Regions from separate parts of the Homo sapiens genome. Here all the other regions are linked to region 2. Evidence: promoter capture Hi-C in 16 types of primary human blood cells and fetal thymus (Javierre and others, 2016). All regions are on one chromosome and are shown on one strand. Each heading gives the region's core, a stretch centred on a gene start or on the middle of the fragment in contact. The rest is flanking DNA. Distances are from core to core; before and after follow the strand shown.

Region 1 (3,660 bases), core at 102-2,601, 320 kb before region 2:
AAAAAATGTTGAAATTGTTTCCTTTTTTCCCAAGGTCTTATACCCTGAATCTGATAAATAAGTCAAATTCTTCTTGATCTTTGTTTCATACTTGAATAGAAAAGTAAATCTTTACTGTTATTAAAATTATCAGGAATTCTTAGATTTTTTAAAATAGTAAAGTTTTAGAAAAGGTGAGGCTTATTAGTAGTAAAGCTTCTAAGATACGAAGATTAGAGGTAATTACTCAGATTTGCCCAGACCAGAGCAAAAAACTTGAAAGAGGTTTTTAAAAATCTTCTTTGCATATGCTGGAGATTAAAATATTGGTTTGTTATATATGCTTTAGTTGTCAGTGTTTAATATTTACCTGGCATAATTGTGGAAAGTTATCAGTAAATGTATGAAATTCAAGTATAGGGTTATATTTGAAATAGATCAAGAAATCTGGTGGTATTTGTATCAAGAAAGCATGTGTATATTTTTCTCATCCTATTATTTTCTAAATAACCTTAAGGTAGATGTCAGGAAATAGATCACAAAGAAGAGTCATGTCTTTTCTTCTTTTTTTTTTTGAGATGGAGTCTTGCTCTGTCACCCAGGCTGGAGTGCAGTGGCGCAATCTCAGCTCACTGCAACCTCCACCTCCCAGGTTCAAGCAATTCTCCTGCCTCAGCCTCCTGAGTGGCTGTGATTACAGGTGCCTGCCACTACGCCCAGCTAATTTTTTGTGTTTTTAGTAGAGACGGGGTTTCACCATGTTATCCAGGATGGTCTCCACCTCCTGACCTCATGATTCGCCTGCCTCGGCCTCCCAAAGCACTGGTATTACAGGCGTGAGCCACCGCGCCCAGCCAGAAGAGTCATATCTTAAGTGAAGATGGCTTTAAATAGTGTTTCTCAGAATAATCAAGAAAGCTAGAAAGGACTTTTCAGCCCCAAAGAACAGAGGGTATAAAGACATCACTCAGTATCTGAACACTAGACGCTGTTGTAAAGTTACTGGGTTTTTAACTTATACTTTGTAATAGATATTAATGCAGCTGAGTTAGCAAGCAATAGTGAGATCAGTGTCATTTTCTAATCGTATACCTCATATGCTGTGGGATGTGGAAAGCCACTAAACTTCAAAATGCTTATGAATTACTACAGAAGCTGTCTTTAAGTACTTCCTATAGGATTTAACATATCATGTGGCTGTTGTAGGGTGCTGTGCTCGTGTACACTAACGTCAGTATGGGTGAGGTTAATGAAAAATTCCAAGATCCATGGCCCAAGTGATATTGAAATGTAAAATTTTGAAAAAACTTTAAAGGCATTTATATATCTTCTTAGTTAAATATGGAAATTATCACCTTAATTTATTATACTATGTTGGCAGGATTTTGGAAAAATTCATCCTTACAGAGCTTAACTTTTTATTTTTATTTTTATTTTTATTTTTATTTTTATTTTGAGACGGAGTTTTGCCCTTGTCGCCCAGGTTGGAGTGCAATGGCATGATCTCTGCTCACCGCAACCTCTGCCTCCCGGGTTCAAATGATTCTGCCTCAGCCTCCCAAGTAGCTGGGATTACAGGCATTCGCCACCATGCCCGGCTAATTTTGTGTTTTTGGTAGAGACAGGGTTTCTCCATGTTGGTCAGCCTGGTCTTGAACTCCCAACCTCAGGTGATCTGCCCACCTCGTCCTCCCAAAGTTCTGGGATTACAGGCATGAGCCACCACACCCTGCCAAAGAGCTTAACATTTTAATTTCATTTTGGTTACTTATGATTTTTATGTTTCAAAAGCAATTTCCATTCTCAGAAGAAACTTTCTGAAACTGTAAACATCTTTGCTTTGTGAGATTGAGCAGTTAATGCTATTTTCTAGTCATATCTCTGTTACACATCAGTGCTCACTTGTAAATTGGAGAGACCTTTTGAGCAAGTGGGTTTAGGAATGCACTCTAGCTTCTGTTTTAAGGTCTTTTGAGAGAAGAACTTTGAGGAAAGATAGTCCCCCCTGAGGTGCGAACACTTCTACCTTCTCTTGTGCTTAAGAATATGGTTCTTGGACTGGGGGCGGTGGCTCACGCTTGTAATCCCAGCACTTTGGGAGGCCAAGGCGGGTGGATCACCTGAAGTCAGGAGTTTGAGACCAGCCTGGTCAACATGGTGAAACCCGTCTCTACTAAAAATACGGAAATTAGCTGGATGTGGTGGGGCGGGCGCCTTTAATCCCAGCTGCTCAGGAGGCTGAGGAGGGAGAATCGCCTGAACCTGGGAGGCAGAGGTTGCAGTGAGCCAAGATCGTGGCATTGCACTCCAGCCTGGCGAAAAGAGCAAAACTCCGTCTTGAAAAAAAGAAAAAGAATTTGGTTCTTAATATCTGGGGTTCCCTAGTACCTATGAGATCGAGTTTAAACTCTGCAACTGGCTCATGGTCTGTGGTCAGTAGCCTTTTCACTCACTGGTTCCAGTTAAGCCAGTAACTCTTCCATTATTAGCTAAGTGTACTCCACTGCCTTGTTGCTGTTATTCTGCTCACAAGCTTTTCCCCATAGTGAGAACCTTGCTTATCCCCTTTCTTACCAGTAAAGATTCTTCATTTCTGTTTTAAGGCTTAGGGTGAGATTCATTCCCAAGTGCCCTTATGAGAATTCTTGAGGCAGGGCACAGTGGCTCACGCCTGTAATCCCAGCACTTTGAGAGGCCGAGGCAGGCAAATGACCTGAGGTCAGAAGTCCGAGACCTGCCTGGCCAATATGGTGAAAGTCCATCTCTACTAAAAACGGAAAAATTAGCTGGGCTTGGTGGCATGCACCTGTAGTCCCAGCTACTCAGGAGGCTGAGGTGGGAGGATGGCCTGAGTCTGGGAGGCAGCGGTTCAGTGAGCTGAGATCATGCCACTACACTCCAGCCTGGGTGACAGAGTGAGACTCTGCCTCAAAAAAAGAAAATTAGAGAATTCTTGAAACTACCCAGAAATAAAAACAACACTGCTGTATAAAGATGTCTTAACTCAGTAGCCAGTATAATTCCAATTTAGGTGGTCAAAAGTATGATATGGGGTTACTTTCATTTCTGGGCAAGTAATTGCTTCAATCTGTATAGAAATTACAGTATAAATATTTGGCAACTACTGAATAATGTGTAGTTGCCATTCCTTATAGGTGGTAATGAATAGACACCAAGGTCAGTCCCTGGTTTAATGAATAATAAAGCCCACAGTATTGCTGATGAGGATATTATACTGCACCATTACCTCTCAACAGTGAAGAGGTTCAGATGTTCACAGTTGTAGTTAATGAGAACAAAATAATACCATTGTTCAGAGCTATATGAAAACAATTGCCAACAACCATTTTTTTCCTGAATTTAGTAAAAGTAAAGTATTTGGCTTTTTTCCCTTCAAACTGTCTTTCATGTTAGCTGTTTCAAAATCCTGTTAACACTTGTCTAACGTTATCTTTCTCTTCGAAGTTCTGATATTAAATAAATCATAGATTTATTTGAAGGTTTTCCAATGAATATATTATATTTTATTTTTAATGGGTACATTGAAAACTTTATATAAGAGGGAAGATTTAGTCTCACACCTCACATACTTTTAACTGGTTATTTCATTTGTTTTATTAAACTTGCCTCTTCCTTGTTATTTGAACAGTGCCATAATAACTTTGAGACCATGATTGAGTA
Region 2 (4,050 bases), core at 767-3,266:
GGGAATTTCTCTAAAGTTTCTCAGTATCTGAATATGAGGATAGGAATCCAGCAGCACAAATACAACAACAACAAAAGTGAATGAACTAACAACAATAGCAACCTCACAGGAACATTTTTAAGCACTTACTAGAGCCAGGCACTTACATATTTATTTTATGTAAACCTCATAACCACTCTATGAAACAAGTATGGCATTGTTATCCCTATTTTATACATGAAGAAACACAGCTCAGAGAAGTGAAATAAATTGCACAAGATCACCTTGTGAGTAACTGAAGGAACCAGTATTTGAACTCAAGTGTTCTGACTTCTATACATTAGAAACATGTGTAGGGTTATATGATGCCTGATAATATTGTTGTTAAAATGATTTAAACATTGGCTCACTAATTTGCAGTTTATTTGGAGTAGATGGTAATGGTTACCTGTCTTAGGACCGCCCAGGAATATGCAATTTATGTAAGAAATCTTATTAATATTGTGTCTTTTTTTCCTGTTACCAACAATTGTCTCATTAAATACAACAAATACTTATTGTTCATCCATGACAATTGATAACTGATCCTTTATTTAAAAACAAATAACCCATTTAATCCCTTCTAGAGCTACAGACTTTACCAAGACACCCTCTGGAAGAAATCTCTCTGCTTTGTTGAGATGACTTTTCCTGTTTTTTTGTTAAACCTAGCTAACATCCCTCCAAGTGAAGACTAAGTTTCTGCCAACCTTCACTCTAAGTAAAGAAACTAAACGCAGAGTACTCTTTCTGGAGAATTCATTAGGTGGAACCATATAAAACTACTGTTTTGGAGATTTTAAAAGTTAAATACTAGTAACTTTATGTGGTTCAATCTAACTTATTATAACTGGAACTTTTTAAAAGTCTAAGTTAATGTGAATTAAAAATTGACTTTTCTTATGCTTAAGGCCTAAATTTACAAATAATAGTTATAAGTAATCATCCCATTAGTTAACCAAATAATAATTAGTAGACTGCTTATATTTATTAGACTGCTTATTAAGAAGCATATTGCAAGGAACATGATTTTTGAACCAGAAGCACTTGTCCTTGATTTCTATCTCTACCACTAATAAGTACACTAATCAGTTTAACTTTGGTTTCCTCTTTTTATAGAACTAAGGATTAAATGACACAATGTCTATATAAGTACTTTATAATCTACAATTGTTACATACATGCTAGTTGGTTTTGTTATCACCTCATTTACTTACTAGAATACCCCATGAGGTATAAAACACATAATATTATTTTTTCTACTGGACACATGAGAAAACAAAGTCAGATGTTAATGCCTTGTCTATTGTCATTGACTTGTTGGAGAGTTGTAATTTCTACCCATGTTTTCTGACTTCAGATATCTCCATTACAAACAGTATTGTAAATACACAAACAGTATATTTACAGGTTGTATCTTAAGAGGCAATATTCTGTATACTATAGAAAAAGAATCTCAAGTTATAATAAATAAAAATAAGAACTTAATTTAAACAATGTTTCAGGTATTGTGTTGAATGCTTCACAACACCCTCATTTGGTTGATACCATTCTTATCTCCAACTTCCAAATTGGAAACCTGAAGCTTAGAGAAGTTTGATGACCTTCCTGAGTCTATCTACATAGTGAGTGGAGGGTTGGAACTCAAGCCCGATTTGAGCAGATTCTGAAACCTGCTTTTAATGGCTACTTGATGAAAACATATATTGCTTTTATAATCCGAAGAACCACCCCAAAGAAAATTCCACTGCAATGCTAACATGGGAAGGGAAATAATTGAAAAACACATTTCTTAATGCAGATGGCAAAAGAATGGAACCCTAAGTAAGTGGGCTGTGACATACCTGAGCCTGTTCCCACTGTAGCTCACTCATGCCTCCCGCCTCCTGAGGCAGCGGCAGGGCCAGGCTGCCAGGCAGCAGGCACACAGCACACAGCACGGTGAGTCGCATAGCTGCCGTCCAGAGACAATTGTTCTTGGACCTATGGTTGATTTGGTGTTTTCTGCTAGTGACTGCAGAAATTTATATAGCTTCTCAGCCTCGAATGTGGAAATAGGTGACTCATTTGAGTGTTTTCTTTCTTTTTAGAGTCTACAGAACTTTGAAAGTATGTGTTATTTTTCATTAACTAAAACGAGGAAGTATTACATCGTTATTGGCAGGAAGCACACAATGTATTTGTCTTTCAAAGGATTTTTTTTTCTGTCTGCTGCATAAATTGACTCCATGAGAAACCTCATTTTTTTGCCAAAGTCAAATGACTGCTCTCATAGGTATCATTCAGGACATTATGGTACCATATATTCTTAAAGAATAATATATATTCTTAAATATATATTCTTATTATATGGTACCATGTATTCTTAAATACATGGTACCATATATTCTTAACAATTAAAAGGTTTGGAAAAGTGCACAAAACATGTAAATAATGAAATAATAATTAAGCAAATACTGTAACCGTCACCAAAGTCAAGAAATAGAACATCACCAAAATCCTGTGGTTCTCCATACAGGGGAAAGATGGCAGGAGGCAGATGGAAATGCTGCTGTGTGGCTGGATTAGTGGCCACTCTATATACAACTGTGCTGTGTCCCCTCACCTTCCACGTCCCTTAGCAGAGCAGTGATAATTCCCTTCTTTGGGTCTCCTTTTAATCAGTTTATGTCTTTTCTTAATGGGGAACACTGCCTCTAATTCTTCTTGAATTAAACACAAAAAAATACCAAGCCAACAAAAATCTACAAGCACGGGTTTAACTCTTCATCTGGCTTACTTATTCTGCTTCTCATTTTATAGTAACAGATTCTTCCAAGGCTAGACCTTCAACTTGGAGATCCAATTTTTTTCTTCCAATCACTCTGACTCTGGCTGCTGCCCAGCTACAGGTAGGGCTGCATTGGTCCTTAGTACACAAAATGGTTATTCTACGTATAGCAGTAAGAATCCATTACCTACAGATTCTAGCCCAATGACTCCATTCTTACCAAAAATGAAAGTGAGGCCAAGATGATAATTTAACTTATTATACTTCTCCCAGCTCACACAGATAGTAGCTCAGTGCTTTTTCTATCCCACTGCACTGCCTATTCATTTTGTAATAGGTCTGTCTCTTTTATTATATTATACATTACTTGGGAGAACACCATGGCTTTTGACTCTAATACATCATGGGAAACACTCCAAATATGCTGGAGCTAAAAAATTTAATTAATCACATATCACTTCAATTACATGGTAATTGAGCACTGTGAGCCAGCAAAGGTAAAATTTTCAGATCAGTTAATTAAATTTGCTCTCTTTACAGAGATGTCTTGATTCTGTACGGTCACAGTTTAACTAGAGTAATTGGTATCCTTAGTCAGAGTTTGACATGTGATAAGGTGCACCATAAATATTTGTAGAATAATGAATATTTATGAACTTTACTTGAATAAGCTAAAAATGGAATTATATCACGTTTTTGGTAATATTTGCATTGAATTAAAATCAAAAGGCATTTCCTCAAGTGAATGAGCACACAAGCCACAAATTGGGTGAAAATGAATGCAAAGACACATCCATGGCCAGGCGCGGTGGCTCACGCCTGTAATCCTAGGACTTTGGAAAGCTGAGGCCAGTGGATTGCCTGAGGTCAGGAGTTTGAGACAAGCCTGGGAAACATGGCAAAACCCTGTTTCTAATAAAAATACAACAATTAGCCAAACATGGTGATGCGTGCCTGTAGTCCTAGCTACTCAGGAGGCTGAGGCACGAGAACTGCTTGAACCTCAGAGGCAGAGGTTGCAGTGAGCTGAGATCACTCCACTGCACTCCAGCCTGGGTGACAGAGGGAGACTCTCTCTCTCTCTCAAAAAAAAAAAAAAAAAAAAAAAGACATATCCAATAAAGGACTGTTATCCAAAATATACAAGTATCTTTTAAAACTCAACAATAAAAACACAAACAATCTGATTTTAAAGATGGGCCAAAAACCTTAACAGTCATCTTACCAAAAAAGATATACAGATAGTGAATAAGCATATGAAA
Region 3 (4,151 bases), core at 793-3,292, 290 kb before region 2:
GAAACCTAGGTGACTACTGCAGAAGTGATCGGTAGACTGGGGGTTTTGTTTAATTCCCCAACCCCGATTTCCATTTCTTGACAGCTGAGGTTACAAAAGAAAGGCAGCCCCAAGGAGCTGATGATGTTTTCTTACCTTCTCTAATGGCAGCCAGACTCTCCCTGCTTCTGTAATCATCAGTTTTACTGACAGAAAACCTGGCTTTATTGCGGGTAAATTCCTGGCTCCGGGGTTCCACATGTGCTAACGCTGTTGGAATCAACAGTAGCTCTGGCAGGATGTCTGCCATGTCATCCCTATTCAACTTTAAACTGTTGGCACTTAGTCTTTTTTAGCCATGAGAACTTTGTGATAAATCTTTTTTGATTTAAAGCTTAACTACTAAATTAAAATTCAGATGAGAAGTCGGTGACATTTAGTACTACAGTTTTTCCAAGTCACACATAAAATATGTTTTGCTACCTTGAACACAAAAAGCTCTGACATAGGTAAAATGGATAATTTCTTAACCATAAACATAGCCTTAATACTGCCACAAATGAAAACAGTTGCAGAATCAAGACATGAGCAAAACAAAATGACACTGAAAAGGTATTCTGAATTAAAGTCTGCCGTATTTTAACAAAAAACAAAACTCCCAAAGTGACCTGACTTACAAGCTGCTATGATCCTGTTAGAAACAAAAAACCTAGTATCTTTGCCACTGAAAGCAATTATTTGGAGACCTCTTAGCAAAGGGTCTACTTCTGTAAAATTTTTGAACACCTAGTCTAGTTAACTTAAAAACAAACTTTAACTGTTAAAGAAACAAGAACTAGAGGTACTGTAACTTTGTGAAATTGGTATTGGTTTGCACTCAGTTAGTGGACAGGGCTTGATTTTTTTGTAAAAGGAACTTGTAAAAACTTCTTAGGGTTGTGACATACCTTTCCCCACGTTTCCTTACATCTTGTCCCAGGTATATTTTTGTGGAATTATAGTTCCCACGACCTTCATAGAATCTATATAAAATATGAGTTAAACTTCACATTTGGTTGTAATTTTACTTGGGATATTATTAGAAGCCACATCTCAGTTCTTTTTTTTTTTTTTTTTCTTTTTTTGAGACGGGGTCTCGCTCTGTCACCCAGGCTGGAGTGCAGTGCCGCAATGTCAGCTCACAGCAACCTCCACTTCCTGGGCTCAAGCAGTTCTCGTGCCTCAGCCTCCCAAGCAGCTTGCGCCACCCACCCAGCTAATTTTTGTATTTTTTGTAGAGACGTGGGGTTTCACCATGTTGTCCAGGCTGGTCTCAAACTCCTGAGCTCAAGTAATCAATCTGCCCACCTCCACCTTCCAAAGTGCTGGGATTACAGGCCTGAGCCACCACGCCGTGCCCCACATCTCAGTTCCTTTTAAAGCATTTGTTCTGTTTCAAATCGGGTTTTTATGTTACAGTGGATTTACACAATTAAAATGATAGCATATCTGGCAAACTTGAACTAATTTTCTCAAGGATCTGGATTAAATGGCAGGATCTGAGAGAAAATCTCCTGTCTATCAGTGCTATCACCAAGAGCTACTGAAGCCAGCTACTCAAAGCTGAGCTTCACTAGTGATGCAGCCATTGGGAAACCTAGCTAAAGACACTTCCTCCTCCTTCAGGGAACCTCTCAGCAACTTGTATTTGGCACTTTTTTCTACTGAATAAGAGGTAAAGCCTGGCACGGTGGCTCACGCCTGTAATCCCAGCAATTTGGGAGGCCAAGGCAGGCAGGTTACCTGAGGTCAGGAGTTCAGGACCAGCCTGGACAACATGGTGAGACCCCGTATCTACTAAAAATACAAAAATTCGTTGGCTGCGGTGGCAGGCAGCTGTAATTCCAGCAACTGGGGAGGCTGAGGCACGGAGAATTGCTTGAACCCAGGAGGCGGAGGTTGCAGTGAGCTGAGATCGCGCCACTGCATTCCAGCCTGGGCAACAGAGCGAGACTCTGTCTCAGGGGGAAAAAAAAAAAAGGAAGAGGAGGTAAACACATCTGCAGGCAGAGTTCAGCAGAGGCATCTGCCTCATGGGCTGTAGCCCAGTGGATTCTAAATGATACTAGGATCACAACTAGATAAGACTGATCACTTGGATGACCGTGAATTAAGACCTTAGATTTTATAAGAGATACAATGGCTCATATTCAGGGACAGCCAGACTGTTAGGTAATTTGAAGTCACACCACAAAAACCACATGTGCATCATCTTCCAAAAGGAGGCCATTTGCTGAGGTGTTTTGTCTCTGAGCACTAGTAAGTCTGTTGAGCCCTGTAAAATAATCCCAAATGGGACTGCCCAGTGAAGAATGTGGACTTGAGATTTAGTTGTTCTTTTACAGTCCAAATCATTGAAAGACAGCATAGCTTTTCTGTATTCTAGGCCAAAGGAATTTCTGTGGAATTCTGCTATGGGAGTTTCAGAAAACCAGCCTAAGCCCATTTAGTGTCATTCAGAAAACAGCTGATGCTTCATTGAGGGGCAGCGGGCGGGGATGGGGGTGACGGGTGCTTAACAGCCAACTCACAGCTCACCTTCGAGGCCACATCTTTATCTGGAATGCAGTGGCAAACCCTACCCCAAATTCAGGATGTTGCTGAGGAAATTTTCCACTGATTTGAGCTAAAACTTTGACTAAATCCCTATCAGTCTTCCAAAATCACTGAAGAAAAATTCTCAATACCTGAACATCTCCAGTGTTCTCATAGTTTTGTTGTTCTATCCTGGTCACTATGACAAATTTGAAAGGCAGATTATTCCAATTAAGTTGGTGTCCCACTGCCATCACTTACTGTGGGATTTGGAGTCTCTCAGACTTTTTCTCCATCAGGGGTAAAGTGAACGTACTACAATTTGCACTATCTCAAGACACTGATAAAGAAGATCAAAGTGTTATAAAAGCAACTGGTAAACCGTTAACATTCCTTAAAAGTGATACTGTATTTTAAAATCACTATGACCTTTTCTCAATATCATCTTGTTTAAAGACATAGTATTATTGAATAATTCAAAATAGTCCTTCAAACTTGAGTAGGTCTACCCAGGGCATCTGCATAAGTACATGAGGCTCTGTCTTGTTCTGTCATTAAGATGCACACCATCTTCAATTTTATAAGTATGCTATTTGTTTTTCAGTATTTTAATATTCTGTAATTACTGAGATGCTCCCACATATGATCTCCTTGTTTGGTCATACCAAGATCAAATAAGACATAATTATTACAATTCCTAATTGTGTGCCTCAAACCTAGGTTTAAATCCCACACTATGGCTGTGAGATGACTAGAAGTTGAGGGGGTAGCCCATAACTGGAAAATGCTTTCTGTATACAAGGCTAACCGTATTCCCTGGGGCTCAAAATTGTCTTCTCAGTTATGAGCTTCCCTACCTCTGGCCCCACTGCAGGTAGGACTTTGCTCTCCACACAGAGGGAATCCTAGGAAAATTGCCACAACAATAGGACAATGCTGTAACAGGTTAGATCTTCCATCCATTTTAAAAAATCATGTACATTTGCTCAACAAACACACTTGGAACATATTCCAACTTGAGTAATAAGTGGCATGGTAACTTCCTCAGGGAGCTTACCAAGAGTAAAGGTAAGACTGTTAAGTGCTGAAGTTAGTTCACACAATGTAGTGAGAGAGCACAGTCTATGGGAAGATTACTTCCTCCTAGGATGATCAGGGAAAGCTTGTACAGGTTCTATTTAAGCTGGGCATTGAGTGGTTATGACTAACCCAACAGAAGTGGTCAGTGGCAGAGAAAGCACTAGGTAAGGAAAACTAAGAATAGTTGGAGGAATGGGAAGTGTATTAGTCCATTCTCACACTGCTATACAGATACTACTTGAGACCGGTAATTTACAAGCAAAAGAGATTTAATTGACTCACAGTTCTGCACGGCTGGGGAGGCCTCTGGAATTGGAAACTTACAGTCATGGCAGAAGGTGAAGGGGAAGCAAGGTACATCTTACATGGCAGCAGGAGAGAGACAGAGTGCAGGGGAAACTGCCACTTTTAAATCCATCAGATCTCGTGAGAAATCCCTCACTATCATGAGAACAGCATGGGGGAAATTGCCCCTATGATTTAAACACCTCCCACCAGGTCCCTCCCTCAACACATAG
Region 4 (3,653 bases), core at 864-3,363, 340 kb before region 2:
TGATTCTAATACTGTGTTTTTACTGTAACTTTTCTATGTTTAGATACACAAATACTACCCGTTGTGCTACAGTTGCCTACAGTGTTCAGCACACTAACAGGCTGTACAGTTCTGTAGCTTGGGGCGATAGGCTATACCTTACAGCCTAGGCATGTAGTAGGCTATACCATCTAGGTTTGTGTAAGTACTCTCTAAGATGTTTGCACAGTGACAGAATTGCCAATGATCCATTTCACAAAGCATATCCTGGTTATTAAGTGACACATGACTATATTTATAGTATCAATCCTTCACATCTCACATGAAATTAATGTTATTTATGTAATTTTAGGGAATAAAAGAGTAATTTGTTGTGGATTGGGTTTTTTAATGATTTTTTTCTTTAACATTTAAAAGCTATTTCTTTAATATTTTAATTTTAGAGAATTCATTAGTAATTTATAACAAATCATGAAGTGACATCAGATGGCAATAAGGATGCCCTGATGTTTATTGAGTTTTAAGAAAAATAGGGCTTTTTTTGTTTGTTTTTTTAAGGAGTCATATTAGGAGTGTTTTTACTCTTTGTTCAAGAAAATGGTTCCTTGAGTATTATGCAAGCCATTAAATTATTTCATATAAACACATAGGAGGTGATTTTTTTTCCCTGGAGATTTTGTACTGGCAAACATGAGTCTCAGGTTTAAACATCACCTTGTATGTTGTAGATCTATTACTGTATATAATACAGTCATGGACATTTTCCAGTAAAAGGCCTAATGAAAACACAATGAAATTATAATTGCTGTTCAGAATGAAAAAAGATCTTTAAAACACTAATAGTTGATAAACTGATCTTTAATGTTATTTTCGCTATTGTTTATATTATAAAAAGATGTATTAAAATATTGTTACCAATCTGTGTTTTAGGAAATAAGTGCTGATGGCACCACTGGGATAAAAATATTTGGTGTAAACAAAATATTGGAGCAAGAGATTTGGGGAAAAAATTATACTTCTGAATTTTAAAGCAAGTAATGAACAGTCCAGAGTGACAAAAACAGAATATTTAATTCCTAACTACAGTTCTGTGCACAGAAATTCTATGTGTAGAAATGTCAGAGGTATTAAACCTCATAGGTTGATTTTGGTTCCTTTGTTTCAGTTTCCCAAAACTTGCTTTCTGTGCATTTACATACACGTGTGTATGTGTTACTATAATGTCTTGAAATAAGAAATAAAAGGATAAGTAAAATACAAATACCTATATGCAATTTATTAAAATAAGACTAAAGCCGAAGGTTGTTGAGACTTCTTTTTCATCAGAGTTAAATATTTGGCATTAATAATTAAATATCTATAAAAATTTTGAGACATTCATTAACATTTTTTCTTTTTTAAGCCAAATATTTCTGTTGTTAAAAATAATATTTTCCTTTTGATGAAAATGCACCTAACAACCAACTAAATAACTAAGAATCCATCCTATTAGTGTTGGGGGAAAACCACTGAAGTCTCTAGAAACCAAATTGGTAACTTTATTAATGGAGTCTTGAGCAAAGAGAATGTCAGCATCTAATTATTTAAATTTTATCAAAGCAAGTCTCTTGATAGCTGTATGCTAAAAGTGAGGTTTTTTTTGTTCTGTTTTGTTTTGTTTTGAGGTTTGAGGCTTTTTTTCCCCTTATCAACTCAAGTCTTTCCTGGTTATCCTGGGCTGTCAGTATTTGGTTATGGACTACATTAATTACTTAGCGTACAGAGGAAAAGATGTGTGTTTTAGATAAAAAGAGCTATTGCGAGCTAAAAATTATTAACAGATGGCCAGGTGCGGTGGCTCATGCCTGTAATCCCAGCACTTTGGGAGGTCAAGGTGGATGGATCACTTGAGGCCAGGAGTTCCTGACCAGCCTGGCCAACATAGTGAAACCCCATCTCTACTAAAAATAGAAAAAAATAGCTGGGAGTGGTGGTGCACGCTTGTAGTCACTCAGGAGGCTGAGGCATGAGAATCACTTGAATCCAGGCGGCAGAGGTTGCAGTGAGTGAATATCATGCCACTCTACTCCAGCCTGGGCAACAGAGACTCTGTCTCAAAAAATTAAGAATAAAAATAAAAATTAGTAACAGGCTGGATGCAGTGGCTCACGCCTGTAATCCCAGCACTTTGGGAGGCCCTGGTGGGCAGATCACTTTAGGTAAGGAGTTCAAGACCAGCCTGGCCAACATGGTCAAACCCCGTCTACTAAAAATGCAAAAATTAGCCAGGTGTGATGGCACACGCCTATAATCCCAGCTGCTTGGGAGGCTGAGGCACTGAGAATCACTTGAACCCGGTAGGCAGAGGTTGCAGTGAGCTAAGATGGTGCACTGCATTCTAGCCTGGGAGACAGAGCGAAACTCCATCTCAAAAGCCGAGGCTGATGGATCATGAGGTTAGAGATCAAGACCATCCTGGCCAACATGGTGACACCCCATCTCTGCTAAAAATACAAAAATTAGCTGGGCTGGTGGCACGCACCTATAGTCCCAACTACTCAGGAGGCTGAGGCAGGAGAATCGCTTGAACCTGGGAGGCAGAGGTTGCAGTGAGCCCAAGATCGCACCACTGCACTCCAGCCTGGGCAACAGAGCGAGACTCCATCTCAAAAAAAAAAAAAATTATTAACTGATAAAACTCACAAAATTTGGCCCTCATAATGAGTCCTCTAATCATCATTTTTTCAGTGGGGAGAATGCTACTCTTCTGATCACTGCAGAACATTCAACATCCCTGGCCCGCTAAGTGCCATAGCACCACACAGCCATTACGATTCCTCGGACCACCAACACTTTTTTTTTTTTTTTTAAATGCTGGGAGAGTTAGGGAATATGGTCTAAAATCTGAGCCCCTCTGAGATCAGGGAAATTATACCCAAGGTTATATAGTTAAATGGCAAAACTGAAATTTGAATTTGATCTTTTGATACCTAGAATTTAAAAGAAATTTAGATTCAATGCAGTTAATCTTTCAGAAATACCTACTAATGCTGATACATGAAAATTTGAGAGGGAGAAAAATAGTGGTTAATGCACTTGCATCTTGTATTGTGACTCATCTTGAATAAGTTACCCAAAGATAATGAGTTTTTCTTTTTTTCTTTTCTTCCTTTATTGTTTCTTTCTTTTTTGGAGAGAGGGTCTCACTCTCATCGCCCAGGCTAGAGTGCAGCATGGCTCAATCTCAGTTCACTGCAGCCTTAATTCCTGGGCTCATACAAGCCTCCCGCCTGTAGCTGGGACTACAGGCATGTGCCACCATACCCTGCTAATTTTTTTGTGTTTTTAGTAGACATGGGGTTTTGCCGTGTTGCCCAGGCTGGTCTCAAACCCCTGGGGCTCAAGCAGTCTACCTGCCTCTACCTCCCAAAGTGCTGAGTTTACAGGTGTGAGCCATAGGGCCTGGCCAAGTTTCTAATTACGTAAGAGAATTTAAGATCTCTGATTGGAACAGACTTTAAAGGCATCTAGTTGAATTATTTACCCAATTCTTGCCTCACCGATCTCAGCTTTGACCTTTCCCTTTACTAGTTTACTTCATTATAGTGTAGCCCATTCTACTTAAGGAAAATTCTAATGACCACAAAGTTTATATTTCTTGATTACCCAAAAATTTACTTCCTTTCACATGTGTG

The links. Contacts are between HindIII fragments. The CHiCAGO score rates a contact against its expected background, and 5 or more counts as called.
Region 1: a contact is called between a fragment that was not itself captured here and the fragment with the promoter of MMP7 in region 2, in 2 of 17 cell types (non-activated CD4 T cells and fetal thymus). The highest score is 6.8, in non-activated CD4 T cells.
Region 3: a fragment that was not itself captured here is called in contact with the fragment with the promoter of MMP7 in region 2 in 9 of 17 cell types (neutrophils, non-activated CD4 T cells, total CD4 T cells and 6 more); the score reaches 11.2 in neutrophils.
Region 4: a contact is called between a fragment that was not itself captured here and the fragment with the promoter of MMP7 in region 2, in 1 of 17 cell types (non-activated CD4 T cells). The highest score is 6.0, in non-activated CD4 T cells.

The regions. Positions count from the first base shown.
Region 1 is chr11:102,211,168-102,214,827 of GRCh38, forward strand. The region is part of intron 6 of YAP1 (Yes1 associated transcriptional regulator); the gene reads left to right. Among named protein-coding and RNA genes, the nearest start is that of YAP1-DT, 100 kb to the left of the region's middle. The HindIII fragment of the contact is 2,317 bases long and covers 194-2,510 here.
Region 2 is chr11:102,528,731-102,532,780 of GRCh38, forward strand. It overlaps MMP7 (matrix metallopeptidase 7), which reads right to left and starts at 2,017. Exons shown (of 6, transcript NM_002423.5): 1 at 1,863-2,017. The coding sequence starts at 1,970. The HindIII fragment of the contact is 6,591 bases long and covers 1,602-4,050 here.
Region 3 is chr11:102,235,029-102,239,179 of GRCh38, forward strand. No RefSeq gene overlaps it. Among named protein-coding and RNA genes, the nearest start is that of BIRC3, 80 kb to the right of the region's middle. The HindIII fragment of the contact is 3,342 bases long and covers 372-3,713 here.
Region 4 is chr11:102,188,548-102,192,200 of GRCh38, forward strand. The region is part of intron 4 of YAP1 (Yes1 associated transcriptional regulator); the gene reads left to right. Among named protein-coding and RNA genes, the nearest start is that of YAP1-DT, 80 kb to the left of the region's middle. The HindIII fragment of the contact is 4,595 bases long and covers 1-3,653 here.